Regions from separate parts of the Homo sapiens genome. Here region 2 is linked to region 1. Evidence: promoter capture Hi-C in human tissues and cell types (Jung and others, 2019). All regions are on one chromosome and are shown on one strand. Each heading gives the region's core, a stretch centred on a gene start or on the middle of the fragment in contact. The rest is flanking DNA. Distances are from core to core; before and after follow the strand shown. Region 1 holds the start of AMACR (alpha-methylacyl-CoA racemase). Region 2 overlaps ADAMTS12 (ADAM metallopeptidase with thrombospondin type 1 motif 12).

Region 1 (6,953 bases), core at 3,186-5,685:
TGGTAGAGATGGGGTTTCACCATGTCGGCCAGACTGGTCTCAAACTCCTGACCGTAAGTGATCCACTCACCTCGGCCATCCAAAGTGCTGGGATTACAGGCATGAGCCACCGCACCTGGCTGTGTTTACCTCTTGAATGCTGCGGTGGGGGAGGCAAAGAAATCTCACTACAGGTGAAAGTTAAAGAAGACTTTAGCTATGGAAGGAGTTTAAAAGCAGCTTGCATGATGATGCATTTACCCCCTTACTACAGGGATGCCCTGAAAGAGAAAGAAAAAGGCAAGTGAATCTCCATATTAACTGGATTTTGTGTAAATAGATGCATGATATTGTCTAGGAGGAAGAGAATTGAAAGACTGAATGCACTTAACAAGATATCCCTGGCCAAAGGATTATTTATGGTAAATAAACCCGGAATCTAAGAAGCATGGTTCCATAGCTAAAGCAATTCTCTGAGATATAAAATGAAGTCTATTAGGTGACCTGAGAACCTCGTTAGAGACTTCATCTGTAATTTGGGCAGAGGGGTTATTCGTTTACTAAGGCTGCCGCAATGAAATACCGCAGACTGGTTGGCTTAAACAATAGAAGTTTAATTTATCACAGTTCTGGAGGATAAAAGATCAAGATGTTGGCAGGTTTGATTTCTTCTGAAGCCTCTCTCCTTGGCTTGAAGACAGCAAGTGTCCTCACTTGATCTCACTGTGTCCTCACATGGTTCCCTTAGGTCTGTGTTTTTTTGGTCCTAATCTCCTCTTCTACAGATACTAGGATTGAATATTAGTCATATTGGATGAGGGCCCACCCATATGACTTCATTTTGGCTCTATCTCTAAATACAGTCACATTCTGAGGTATTGACGGCTAGGGATTCAACATATAAATTTTTATTGATTTATTATTAATACATAATATTCGTACATATTTATGGAGTACATGTGATATTTTGATACATGCATACAATGTGTAATGATCAAATCAGGGTTTTTAGGATATTCATCACCCAGAACATTTATCATTGTTTTGTGTTGGAAACATTTCAAATCTTCTCTTCTAGCTTTTTGTTTGTTTTTGTTTTTTTGTTTTGTTTTGTTTTCTTTTTGGAATAGGATCTCACTCTGTCTCCCTAGCTGGAATGCAGTGGTGTGATTATAGCTCACTGAAGCCTCAAACTCATGGGCCCAAGTGATCCTCAGACCTCAGCCTCATGAGTTAGTAGGTTTATAGGTGTACCCCACATCCAGATAACTTTTCAAGATTTTTTTTTTTTCAAGACAGAGTCTTGCTCTGTCGCCCAGGCTGGAGTGCAGTGGCACGATCTCAGCTCACTGCAAGCTCCGCCTCCCTGGTTCAAGTGATTCTCCTGTCTCAGCCTCCCTGGTAGCTGGGATTACAGACGCGCACCACCATGCCCAGCTAATTTTCATATTTTCAGTAAAGACGGGGTTTCACCAATTTTTCAAGTTTTTTGTAGAGATGGGGTCTCACTGTGTTGCCCAGGCTGGTTTCGAACTTCTGGCCTCAAGTGATCCTGCTGCATCAACCCCCCAAAATGCTGGGATCACAGGTGTGAGCCACTGCATCTGGCCACTATTTTGAAATATACCATATACTGTTGTTAACTATAGTCACCCAACTGTGCCATCAAATACTATTATTTAGCTATTATTTATTCCTTCTAACTACATGTTCATACCCATTATCCAATCTCTTTTCATCTCTGCCCCCCCATCATTCTACTCTTTATGAGATTAAATTTTTAACTCCCACATCTGAGTGAGAACGTGTGATACTTTTCTTTCTGTGTCTAGTTTATTTCACTTGACATAATGACCTCGAGTTCCATCCATGTTGCTGCAGATGACAGGATTTCATCCTTTTTTTATGACCAAACAATATTTCATTGTGTATATGTACACATTCTCTTTGTCCATTCATCCAGTAATGGACACTCAAGTTGATTCCATATTTTGGCTATTGTGAATAGTGCTGCAATAAACATGTGGGTACAGGTGTTCCTTTGACATACTGATTTCTCTTAAGATTTTTATCAAGACAATATGTGCACAGCTGAACATAGACCCTTATCAGGAGTTTTTGATTTTGCCTTTTGCCTTGTGATCTTTATTGGCCTCAGAAGCATGTGATCTTTGTTCTTCTTGTTTGCCCTTTGAAGCATGTGATCTTTGTGACCTACTCCCTGTTCTTAAACCTCCTCCCCTTTTGAAATCCTTAATAAAAACTTGCTGGTTTTGCGGCTCAGGTGGGCATCACGGACCTACCAATATGTGATGTCACCCCTGGTGGCCCAGCTGTAAAATTCTTCTCTTTGTACTCTTTCCCTTTATTTCTCAGACTGGCCGACACTTAGGGAAAATAGAAAGAACCTATGTTGAAATATTGGGGGCGGGTTCCCCCGATACTTTTGGACATATATCCAGTAGTGGGACTGCTGGATCATATAGAAGTTCTATTTTTAGTTTTCTCACAAACCTCCATACTGTTTTCCATAATGGCTAAACTAATTTACATTCCTACCAACAGTATATATAAGTTCCTCTTCTCTGCGTCTTTGCCAGCATTTGTTATTTTTTGTCTTTTTGATAATAGCCAGTCTAACTGAAGTAAGATGATATCTCATTGTGGTTTTGATTTGCATTTCCCTGATGATTAGTGATGTTGAGCATTTTTTCATATACCTGTTGGCCATTTGTATGCCTTTTGAGAAATGTCTGTTCAGATCCTGTGCCCACTTTTTAATGAGATTATTTCATTTTTTGCTGTTGAGTTGTTTGAGTTTCTTGTATAGTCTGCATATTAGTCACTTGTTGGATGAATAATTTGCAAAATATTTTCTTCTATTCAATAAGTTGTTTATTCTGTTGTTTCTTCTGTTGTGCAGAAGATTTTTAGTTTAATATAGTCCCATTTGCCTATTTTTTGTTTTTGTTGCCTATGCTTTTGAAGTCTTAGTCATAAAATCTGTGCCTAGGTCAATGTCCTGAAGTGTTTTATCTGTTTTCTTATAGTAGTTTTATAGTTTTGGGTTGTATGTCTTAAGTTTTTTAATCCATTCTGAGTTGATTTTTGTGTATGGTGAGGGATAGGGGTCTAGTTTCATTCTTCTGCATATGGATTTCCAGTTTTTCCAGCACTACTTATTGAATAGAATGTCCTTAATATATGTTCTTGGTGTTTTTATTGATAATCAGCTGGCTGTAAATATATGGATTTATTTTGGGGTTCTTTATTCTGTTCCATTGGTCTTTGTGTCTATTTTATGCCAATAGAATGCTGTTTTGGTTACTACACCTTGGTAGTATAATTTGAATTCTGGTAGTGTGTTGCTTCCTGCTTTGTTCTTTTTGTTCAGTGTTGCTTTGGCTATTCAGGACCTTTTGTGGTTTTATACAATTTTTTTTTCTATTTCTATGAAGAGAAAGCCACAGAGTCCTAAAATAATTCTAAAACTCATCATGACTTTCTTGCCTAAAAGATCTTGATTTCAATCGTGCCTAGTTTTGCTTTAATCACTTGCTTGAGAAATACATAAATCCCCACTTAAGATTAGTGCAGGCATATCTCTGGCACCCATTTCTGGTTCTATTAAAATTCCTAGAGATGTCAAAAATTACATTAGGCCACCTGACAGGCTATACCTAGAAGAGAAAAAATGATTTGTAAAAGCAGTGGGGCTATTTGCGATTGCTTTTTTTTTTTCTTAAATATCACCTATTAGGTTGAAAACCTGAAATTGCAGCTTTCTGTAGAAATGGCGGAAGACAAACTAACATTTTTAAAGCGCTCTCATTTAGCTCTGATGAGTACTACACCCCTGATATTCTTCTGATACTAAAATAATTTTCCTAGTGTAGTCTAAACTTTTTTAAAAAGACATGTAATCCGCGGAGTTTGTAACTCAAAACGAGTGCATCTAGGAGGTATCGCAAGCCGTTTCTGGATTAAATTCCCAGCTAGCTAGCTAGCTAAGCAGGGGCGGTGAAGAAGACAATCTGCAGCCTAGGGAAGAAAACGCTTTCGCATTGTTCTTACGTGTTTACGTTATTTTATTTCCCTAGAGCAAGGCAGGAGTAGGGACTCGAATGGTACAGTTGGGCTGGGGATCGCCCTGGTACAATAAAAGCGTCCAGAGAGGACGGTAACAGGCAGGAGCTCCAAAGGTCAGTCCCTGCAATTTAAGACTCAGGAATTTAGGTTGCACAAAAAGGAAAGCAACCTACTGCATTTGGCACTGGCGGTCCCGGGAGGCCGGGGGTGGGGAAGCGCCCAGTGCGCAGACTCCGCGGGCTTGCGCAGGCCCGCAAAAGAGGGACGGGGGTGGTGCCTTTGGGGCGCGGCGCCGCGGCTGGGGGCGTGGCGCCGGGGATTGGGAGGGCTTCTTGCAGGCTGCTGGGCTGGGGCTAAGGGCTGCTCAGTTTCCTTCAGCGGGGCACTGGGAAGCGCCATGGCACTGCAGGGCATCTCGGTCGTGGAGCTGTCCGGCCTGGCCCCGGGCCCGTTCTGTGCTATGGTCCTGGCTGACTTCGGGGCGCGTGTGGTACGCGTGGACCGGCCCGGCTCCCGCTACGACGTGAGCCGCTTGGGCCGGGGCAAGCGCTCGCTAGTGCTGGACCTGAAGCAGCCGCGGGGAGCCGCCGTGCTGCGGCGTCTGTGCAAGCGGTCGGATGTGCTGCTGGAGCCCTTCCGCCGCGGTGAGCCCGGGCCCCGCGGGCTGCTCTCGGGAAGTTCCCGCGGAGGGGAGGGGCCTGGCCGTTCGATCGAGGCTGCACCCGCCACACCTTTGCCCTGTTGCCGCAAGAACCCTTGTCGGCCCCAGCCTTCCAGATTTTTGCCTCCTAGGGTATTGTTAGTGATCATTCTTCCCAAACTGGATTGTCCAAAACTTGGGTTCTGAGATACTGCTGTTGCCCGGTTTCTCCTTTTGCCTCTCTGACTCCTTCCCAAATTCCTCCTTTTTTTTCTAAGAAACGTTCCGTATTTGCCTTTCTTAATTAATTGAGGGTCTTGAACCCTGTGAGAATCTAATGAAAGCCATAGGATTCCCTTCCTGGAAAACTGCATATAGGCGGTCATTCGGCTACCGTTTTGGAGTGCTGTACCCTCAAGCCATCCACGGGCCCAGGCTAACGCTCCTCCCTGCCTGAAATGCTGGCGTTCTAAGTCTCAGCATCTGCTCCCTGAAGCCCAGTTACCCATTCCCATCATTTTCACCTTTTTGTAGACTTCCCCCTTTCAGAGCGGCAGACGCTGGCATACACAGGTCCTGGGCATCGCCGTCAAGGCTGCCCGCCAGGCAGCTTCCACAAATCCCAAAATGAGCCTTTCCTTCTTCCTTCTAAAACAGCATCTCCACCTTCTGTATTATTTATTTCAGTGAATGCCTGAATCTCAAACTTGTACTTCATCATGGACTCCAGTCTTCCTTTCACATCCAATTTCAATGATCATCAATACAGTCATTTTGCTCCTTAGCCCACTCGGACTATTTCTCTCCATACCTGCTGCAACTGCCTTGACACTGGTGTGACAGCCTTTTAAAAACTGGTGTTTGGGGCTGGTATCACTCCAGTGGATTCTCAGACAGCTGCCAGAATAACTTTGTTCAAGTAGAAATCCAAAGCATTGCCTGGTCTATAGTGGGAAATCGGTAAATGGTGAATGAATGAATGCCTACGGCACAGCCGGCTTATTTAAATGCGTTAACTCATTTAACCCTCACAGCTGTATTTGAGGCTTGTAACAATAATGATTTAATAATTAAGATTATGTAATAATTTAAGAATGCTCCATTTAAGATGAGGGAGGCTTGTCCAAGGTCTTGTAATTAGGAGGAAGGTCGGCTGGGAATACGGATATAGCCTCCGGGTGAGGAGTTGTGACTGGTGTTTAGGTAGATGACTAGAGGTTTTCTGTGATTTATTTTAGCCTTAGGAAGGTAAAGATAGTGAGTTTATTATGTAATTTTGATTACTTTTAATCCCAGGAAATTTCAGGTGCTGGTTACCTGGGGTTTGTGCTATAAATACTATACTTGTTGATAGCTTAAAAACTCTCAGGTGCTATTGTCACTAACCACTCTTTCTACAGATGGGTGCTAAACTTTTTCGTGAAGGTACTGATGCTAGGCACTTTAGCGCCTGTGGAAACATCAGGTGTAAATTCTGCAGGAGGAGCTCATGAGCTGATAGGGAAGATAAGTGTATGCATGTACAAGCAAGTGCAGCTAAGGTGGGATGTGGTAAACACTGATGCGGTATAGAAAAAGAGAAAAGGGATTTACTAAAGGGATGAGACCCTGCTCTGGGGATTGAATAAATAGGCTTGGATAAACCTAGAGGGAAACAGAGATGTACTGGGAGAAATTACATCCTGGGAAGAAGCCACACATTCCAGAAATGGTGGCTTCACTCTTTGAGTCCTTAACTGCTGTAAACATGCCATTAGCCTACAGCAAATGTTATTAATATTACTTGCAATGGTGCTATTTTATGTTTGTCTCAGAGAAGGGATTATCTCCATCCTCAATTCATACTCTCTTAAGAAGATCGTTACTTTTCTCTTAAGGTGTCATGGAGAAACTCCAGCTGGGCCCAGAGATTCTGCAGCGGGAAAATCCAAGGCTTATTTATGCCAGGCTGAGTGGATTTGGCCAGTCAGGAAGCTTCTGCCGGTTAGCTGGCCACGATATCAACTATTTGGCTTTGTCAGGTATGTTGAAAAAAAATTTAGTCTACACTTTTAATTTATTCCATCAAGATCTACAGGTATGTTGATTAACAATAATTTGTAAAGGTAAAAATTTAAACATTTATCAGAATCAATCAAGAGAGCATGGGTGTTCAAAATGGATCGGTTTGAGTCTTGAAACAATCATTCTCAACCTTCCCTCACCCCATCCCTTAACAGGTTGGAAGGTTAATACATGCCCACTA
Region 2 (6,953 bases), core at 2,642-5,141, 450 kb after region 1:
GCATTGAATTTTCCTTCTACATGCAAATCAAGGTTTCTCAACCGTGACTATTTTTTAAAATAAGCTGGGGAATTATTTTTAATACTGAGCATCCCCGGGTCCTACCCCAAGAGATTCAGATTAATTTGTGTGAGTGGGGTGCCCCAAGTGTTGGTAATTTTTAAAAAGCTCTGTGGGCAATGTTAGCAAACGGGACTGAGAACTGACTCCAGGATCCCAGTGATGGGGCATGTGTGAGAAGGTGACACTCAGCCTCTGTCATCTCTCTCCTTCCCTGCTACAGTGCTCCACCACATGTGGCCTGGGGGCCTACTGGAGAAGGGTGGAGTGCAGCACCCAGATGGATTCTGACTGTGCGGCCATCCAGAGACCTGACCCTGCAAAAAGATGCCACCTCCGTCCCTGTGCTGGCTGGAAAGTGGGAAACTGGAGCAAGGTAACTTATCAGGCTTGGCAGAGTCTTGGAGGTAGAGAAGGTGGGGATGGGTTGGAAAGGGAATCTTATATAAACACTTGCTAAAGTCGTTTTTTTTTTTTTTCTTTTTCTTAATTAAAGTTCTAGGGTACATGTGCACAACGTTCAGGTTTGTTACATATGTATACATGTGTCATGTTGGTGTGCTGCACCCATTAACTCGTCATTTACATTAGGTATATCTCCTAATGCTATCCCTCCCCCCTCCCCCCACCCCACAACAGGCCCCGGTGTGTGATGTTCCCCTTCCTGTGTCCATGTGTTCTCATTGTTTAATTCCCACCTATGAGTGAGAACATGCGGTGTTTGGTTTTTTTCCTTGTGATAGTTTGCTGATAATAATGGTTTCCAGCTTCATCCATGTCCCTACAAAGGACATGCACTTATCATTTTTTATGGCTGCATAGTATTCCATGGTGTATATGTGCCACATTTTCTTAATCCAGTCTATCATTGCTGGACATTTGGGTTGGTTCCAAGTCTTTGCTTTGTGAGTAGTGCCGCAATAAACATACGTGTGCATGTGTCTTTATAGCAGCATGATTTATATTCCTTTGGGTATATGCCCAGTAATGGGATGGCTGGGTCAAACGGTATTTCTAGTTCTAGATCCCTGAGGAATCGCCACACTGACTTCCACAATGGCTGAACTAGTTTGCAGTCCCACCAACAGTGTTTTTTTTTCTACCTTTCTGCTGCCCTTTTACCTCTTATAAAATCAGGGATGAGCAAATCATGGGCATTACCATAGGCCAACTTCAAGTTACACAAAAGTCTTAGAAGTACAGAGTTTTTATTAACCCACATGTGGTAACCCACCTGTCCTTTCTCTTACAAGATAAACCAGAAAAGTTAAGTTTGGGTTATTAATTGCTTCTCCAGCATGCAATGCTATTTCTATATTACTTCAATTTAGCATTTTAATGAATAATCCTATATTATCACGGATATAATTAAATCATGAATCACCTGTGCTTTACAAAGCGAATATATGGCTTAATCTTCCAGACCCAAAATGAAACAAAAGCTGAGATATAAAGAATAATTTGTTCTTTAAAAGCGTACTCCCTGCACTGATCTTCTTATTTATTTTTATTTTTATTTTTTTGAGATGGAGTCTCACTTTGTCACCCAGGCTGAAATGCAATGGCGTGATGTTGGCCCACTGCAACCTCTGCCTCCCGGGTTCAAGCGATTCTCGTGCCTTAACCTCCGGGTAGCTGGGATTACAGGCATGCACCACCATACCAGGCTGATTTTTGTATTTTTAGTAGAGATGGGGTTTCACCATGTTGGCCAGGCTGGTCTCGAACTCCTGACCTCAAGTGGTCCGCCTGCCTTGGCCTTCCAAAGTGCTGAGATTGCAGGCGTAAGCCACCACACCCAGCCATACTGATCTTTTTAAAGTGCAATTTTACCATCTTTGCTAATCTTACTGTGATTACTCATTTTGCTGTGCTGTCTCCATAGTTCCTTGTGAAAAGAACGTATCAGGTTTTCAGATTAGTTAGCCTTGGTGCTTTGAGACACTAACTAGGCCTAATCTGCTTGTCACGCTGGACTAGGGCTTAACCAGTTCTTGGGGGATAATTCAGGGCTATAAGGCACTGGTCAGTGGTGAGATTGAGGGCCAGTTGGCAGGTAGAGAGTACAGAGGTGTGAGCTGTGCATATACCTGTTTGCCATACATGATCAACCCTAGGAAGCCTGGTAGGCCCCTGTCTTCTCTCCAGGGAGCTGGTTCCTCTTGATAGCTGAGACACAGGAGAAAGGAAAAGAAAGAGCTACCCAAGAGGTTTAGGGAAGCTGATGTCACCTCTAGACATTTGTTTCTTCATCTAGTGAAGAGCTCATGTCCCCAGACAGACAGGACCCAGAGGTGTTGCAATGGGCATTTCTGTCTCTGGTTCTCCTGGCAGACTTACCATCAGACAGGAACATGGGAGGCTACTGTCTGATGGTCGGTCTTTCGGACCCTTTCCCAAAGCAAGGCTCTGGTCTTTGGAAGAGAGGGGTTGTGAGGCTACTCCTTGAGAAAATTACCACCTTCTTTCTCTTTCTATATAATTTTTCTTTCAAGAATCGATACTGGTCTTTTTTATTTCTCTTCCAACTCATAACAAACTCAGGATCTGAAAAGGACTGAAAGTTTGGCTACAACTTCTCTTCCATATCCAGAGAAATCTCAAGAAACATCTCATATCCCTGAGCTTGCCAAATGTTGACCAAGTCCTAAAGTTCCACTTTCCTGTCACTGGGAATAATCATTTCATTGGAAATTACATGACTCATGAAAAGGAAAGATGTGTGAAATAGCTTGTGTTTTGAAAAGGTCAGCTCCAGCCTGAGGGAGTCTAGCCAGTGCAAACTCTGGATGAAAGATTAGCAAGCTCATCTCTGGGGTCCGGCCTCCTAAGGAAAGCCTGGCTTGACTCCTTGCCTGGCCTATAGGGTCTCTCATGCCCCTCTCTCTCTCTCTTTCATGGCCTTTAGGGTTGCAGATATATTGATTAATCTCTGTAGTGCCCTGAGTGGTTTTGTAGGAGTTGTTTCTGACACATCATCAAATTCAGCTAGAATGAGGTAACTACTATATCTAAAATATAATCCTCAAAATTACTGTATTCCTACCAGTAAAGAAAGTGTCTCTTTTATTAGATAATAGATAAACCTTATATCAAAGATGCTATTTAACTACTGATGGTCAGTTGCCCTGATTTTTGTTTTTTCTGACCACTATTATGGGTATTGCATACATCAGCAGTCCCTAACCTTTTTGTCACTAGAGACCAGTTTTGTGATCTCTACAAAATTCTTTTTCCACGGACTGGGGGAATGGTTTTGGGATGATTCAAGCACATTACATTTATTGTGCACTTTATTTCTATTATTATTACATTGTCATATATAATGAAATAATTATAAAACTCACCAAAATGTAGAATCAGTGGGAGCCCTGAGCTTGTTTTCCTGCAACTAGATGGTCCTATCTAGGGGTGATGGGAGACAGTGACAGATCATCAGGCACTAGATTTTCATAAGAAGTGTGCAACCTATATCCCTTGCATGCACAGTTCACAATAGGCTTTGCATCCCTATGAGAATCTAATGCTGCTGCTGATCTGACAGGAGGTCGAGCTCAGGCAGTAATGTGAGCAATGGGGAGCAGCTGTAAATACAGATAAAGCTTTGCTTGCTCGCCCGATGCTCACCTCCTGCTGTGCAGCCTGGTTCCTAACAGGCTGAGATATAACAGACTGGGGGATTGGGGATCCCTGGCATACATGGCTTGTCTTTCCTAGAGATATTAACTTAAATCTTGATTATTGAGACCCCTTTTTCTAATTAATTTTTTTTTGAGATGGGGTCTCACTTTGTCACCTAAGCTGGAGTGCAGTGGCCCACTCACAGCTCACTCCAGCCTCAACCTCCTGGGCTCAAACAATACTCCTGCCTTAGCTTCAAGTAGTTGGAGACCCCTTTTTCATATGGATGTCTAAAGTCCAAATCATGTGCTAAGAAAGATTTGAAGGCCTTCCCTCTGAGCTTCGCTAATTCTGATAGGCCTTTTATGCTCTCTTTGTGGCAGACCTTCAAAATCCAGAGCAGGAAAGAGGATCCCTGGTTTTGCCTTTAAATATCCAGAGAGTTTAGATTCTGCCGAACTGATCATTTGCCTTTTCACAGATACTTTCTCAGAAAGAAAAATTCTAATTTTACCTGGAATTTTCTACATTATTCCAGCAATCTCTCCTCCAGATCCAGAAACACTTTAATTCTCATAGGATGACAGGGTATGTTGCAGCCTCACCTGAACCCACAGGTATCATACCTGAGGCATCCAGGTTACTCACCAGGAACTTCTACCACTGTGATTGCTGTCTGGATTGCAATTGTTTTACTGGCTTATTTCTCTCATACCATTCTTCTTGATGAAGCCTGATAGAACTGCTGTGAACATTTTCTCATATACATATGTCAGGTTCATGACTACACCAAAGGTCATGTTGCAGTCTGAAGGGAGTGGGTGGATGAGCAGAAAGAACACTCGGGGGCCACAGGCTGGTGAAAGATTATTTTATTCAGCAGCAACTCTCATCAGCAGCTTTTTCACACTGTCCGCCCCATCTGGGCTGCTTAGTCCGGCTCCCACACACAGCTGCATGGCTGGCTTTCCCTTGCTTTCAGGGTCAGCAGGTTAACTCTTTCTTTCTCTCTGGGCATGAGTGAGCCGAGCTGTGTCCTGGCTCCCCTCTGTCCATCTTTGCAGATGGACAACTTTGGCTCTCTCTCTTTCTCTTGGTGCAGTGTGACCACACTGTGTCAAACAGGGCAGTTATACCTTTTACAGACAACAGTGGCTTAGAGCCAAGTGATGGCCTTCCCACGTTATGGCTCCATGACTGTGATAACAAGTGGAGTTACACACCTGCACTCTAAACTTGCTGAGTCACACAGGATGTAAACATCCTACCTCGGCCTATCCTTCACCAAAGCACAGCCATGTTCCTTACAACATGACAGAGGACTGAGACATTCAGATCTCTACCTTTCCAGTGTCTGCAAGTAGTTTATCACAGTGGCTTTCCTCCTCTTCGTGCATTAATCTGTCTGAAACAAAATCAAGGTTGTCATCCTCAGGTTTCTCCCAGAGGCAGTCTTGGAAAAATGCAATTATGCAGTATTGAATCCCAGAGGGGTCTGACTTGGAATCAGATGTATCTGGCATGATAACCTACTCTGTCATTAATCTGTATGTGACACTGGCCATTCATCTAACTACTTAGGAGCTTTAGTTTTCTCACCCCTGAAATGAAGTGGATGATATTGCCTCTACTTACTTTGTAGAGGTTGTTATAAGGATCAAAAGAGAAAATGTGTGCAATGAACTCTGTTCATGATAAAAGACTAAACAAGGCCCTGGACAAACGTCGAGCTCTAGGTAAAGTTAGGGCTGGCTATTGGACATTGACTAATCTCTTGTTTCCTGGACTTAGGGCAAGAGGCCTGTGGACAGGTTAGTGAAGTAAGCCCTGCCAATGGAGAAACTGGCCTGAGAAGGTGTTCACTCCCCAGTACTACACAGTCAGGGTGCTCAAAGTGTTCCTGAACTCTGGAGGACTTGACCTACTGTGGGTGGTAGTACTGCCACGTGTCTGACATTGCATGGAAGCTTTGGATAAACAATTTTATTTTTACCATAATACAGGACTTTATAATTTCCACTAAGGAAACTAGGGCTTAGAGTATTTAAATCACCAATATATACTTGATCACAAAACTAATATTGAATAGTCTCAATTCTAAGAAACCGTCACCTGGGGGATTATGTCATTTTAATTACAGCTTTTCAGAAAGAAATGAAACACTACACAATTAATACGTATATCAGTTGTAGGACACATGCCGGTTTCAGAATGTTAAAATTTGTATGGGGGAGGCTGGGCACTGTAGCTCATGCCTATAATCCCAGCACTTTGGGAGGCCAAGGCAGGCAATCACTTGACCTCAGCAGTTCAAGACCAGCCTGGGCAATATGGCAAAACCCCGTCTCCACTGAAAATACAAAAAAACTTAGCCCGGCTTGGTACAGCACATGCCTGTAGTCCCAGCTACTCGGGAGGCTGAGGTGGACGGATCACTTGAGCCCAAGAGGCAAAGGTTGCAGTGAGCCAAGATTCCACCACTGCATTCCAGGCTGGGCAGCAGAGTGAGACCCCATCTTAAAAAAAAATCATATGGGAGAAAAAGTGATTCTTCTGATGGAAGAAATGTAGTAAGAGATAATAATGAGCTTGAAAAATCCTCAGCTGGGTTTGACAGCAAAACGATGCATCATCTGCACAGCTCCACACACTTCCTCACTGATATTTTGTCTGTTTCTTCTGAAGTTTTGGCAACTGCTGATTTGACAACCCCTTTATTACTTCAGTTAGAATGAACATTGCCCTTTTCATAGCTAAGTCTAGCAGATCTTGATTTATTTCTGAAGTGAATCAGAAAGATTTTTACTTTTTTTTTGTAATAATCTGTCTTCCCACATAGGCAACGTTGCCTTTTTATTTTAGCGGTAACTTTATCATCTAAGTTATTTGCTGGAAAGTAACAGAAAGTGACAGCCTTTCCTTATGGCCTTGGATTTCATGTATTTGCTAACTAGTCCTTCTGTCTTATTCTAGTTCTTGTCTCCATGTTTATTGAATTTTACAGATTGTCTATGGCAGTACTGCATTTTATGGACCTGAATTTTTACAAATGAATGAAATGGGAGAATAGCCTTTGTTTTGCTAAATACAGACAAACCATACTTTCATACACAGCATGTTCCCAGAAACATTTACTAAAGTCCAGTGTGCAAAAGTCAAAACCTAGAATTGTATGTTATAGGAGAGCTTCTATCCTATGAAGGCAAAAATTGAGTAGCAGAAAGATGAATCATACACTGAGTATCCCTACATTTATTTTACTGTTGATATAA

What was found. Contacts are between HindIII fragments. The study calls those that stand out against the background at their distance.
Region 2: a fragment that was not itself captured here is called in contact with the fragment with the promoter of AMACR in region 1 in 2 of the 25 tissues and cell types used here (IMR-90 fibroblasts and mesendoderm cells).

What each region holds. Positions count from the first base shown.
Region 1 is chr5:34,005,532-34,012,484 of GRCh38, reverse strand. It overlaps AMACR (alpha-methylacyl-CoA racemase), which reads left to right and starts at 4,435. Exons shown (of 5, transcript NM_014324.6): 1 at 4,435-4,712; 2 at 6,586-6,729. The coding sequence starts at 4,466. It overlaps C1QTNF3-AMACR (C1QTNF3-AMACR readthrough (NMD candidate)), which reads left to right. Exons shown (of 9, transcript NR_037951.1): 7 at 6,586-6,729. RefSeq lists a silencer at 4,219-4,298. The HindIII fragment of the contact is 16,164 bases long and covers 1-6,953 here.
Region 2 is chr5:33,554,510-33,561,462 of GRCh38, reverse strand. ADAMTS12 (ADAM metallopeptidase with thrombospondin type 1 motif 12) reads left to right here. Exons shown (of 24, transcript NM_030955.4): 20 at 284-436. Among named protein-coding and RNA genes, the nearest start is that of TARS1, 120 kb to the right of the region's middle. The HindIII fragment of the contact is 6,851 bases long and covers 466-6,953 here.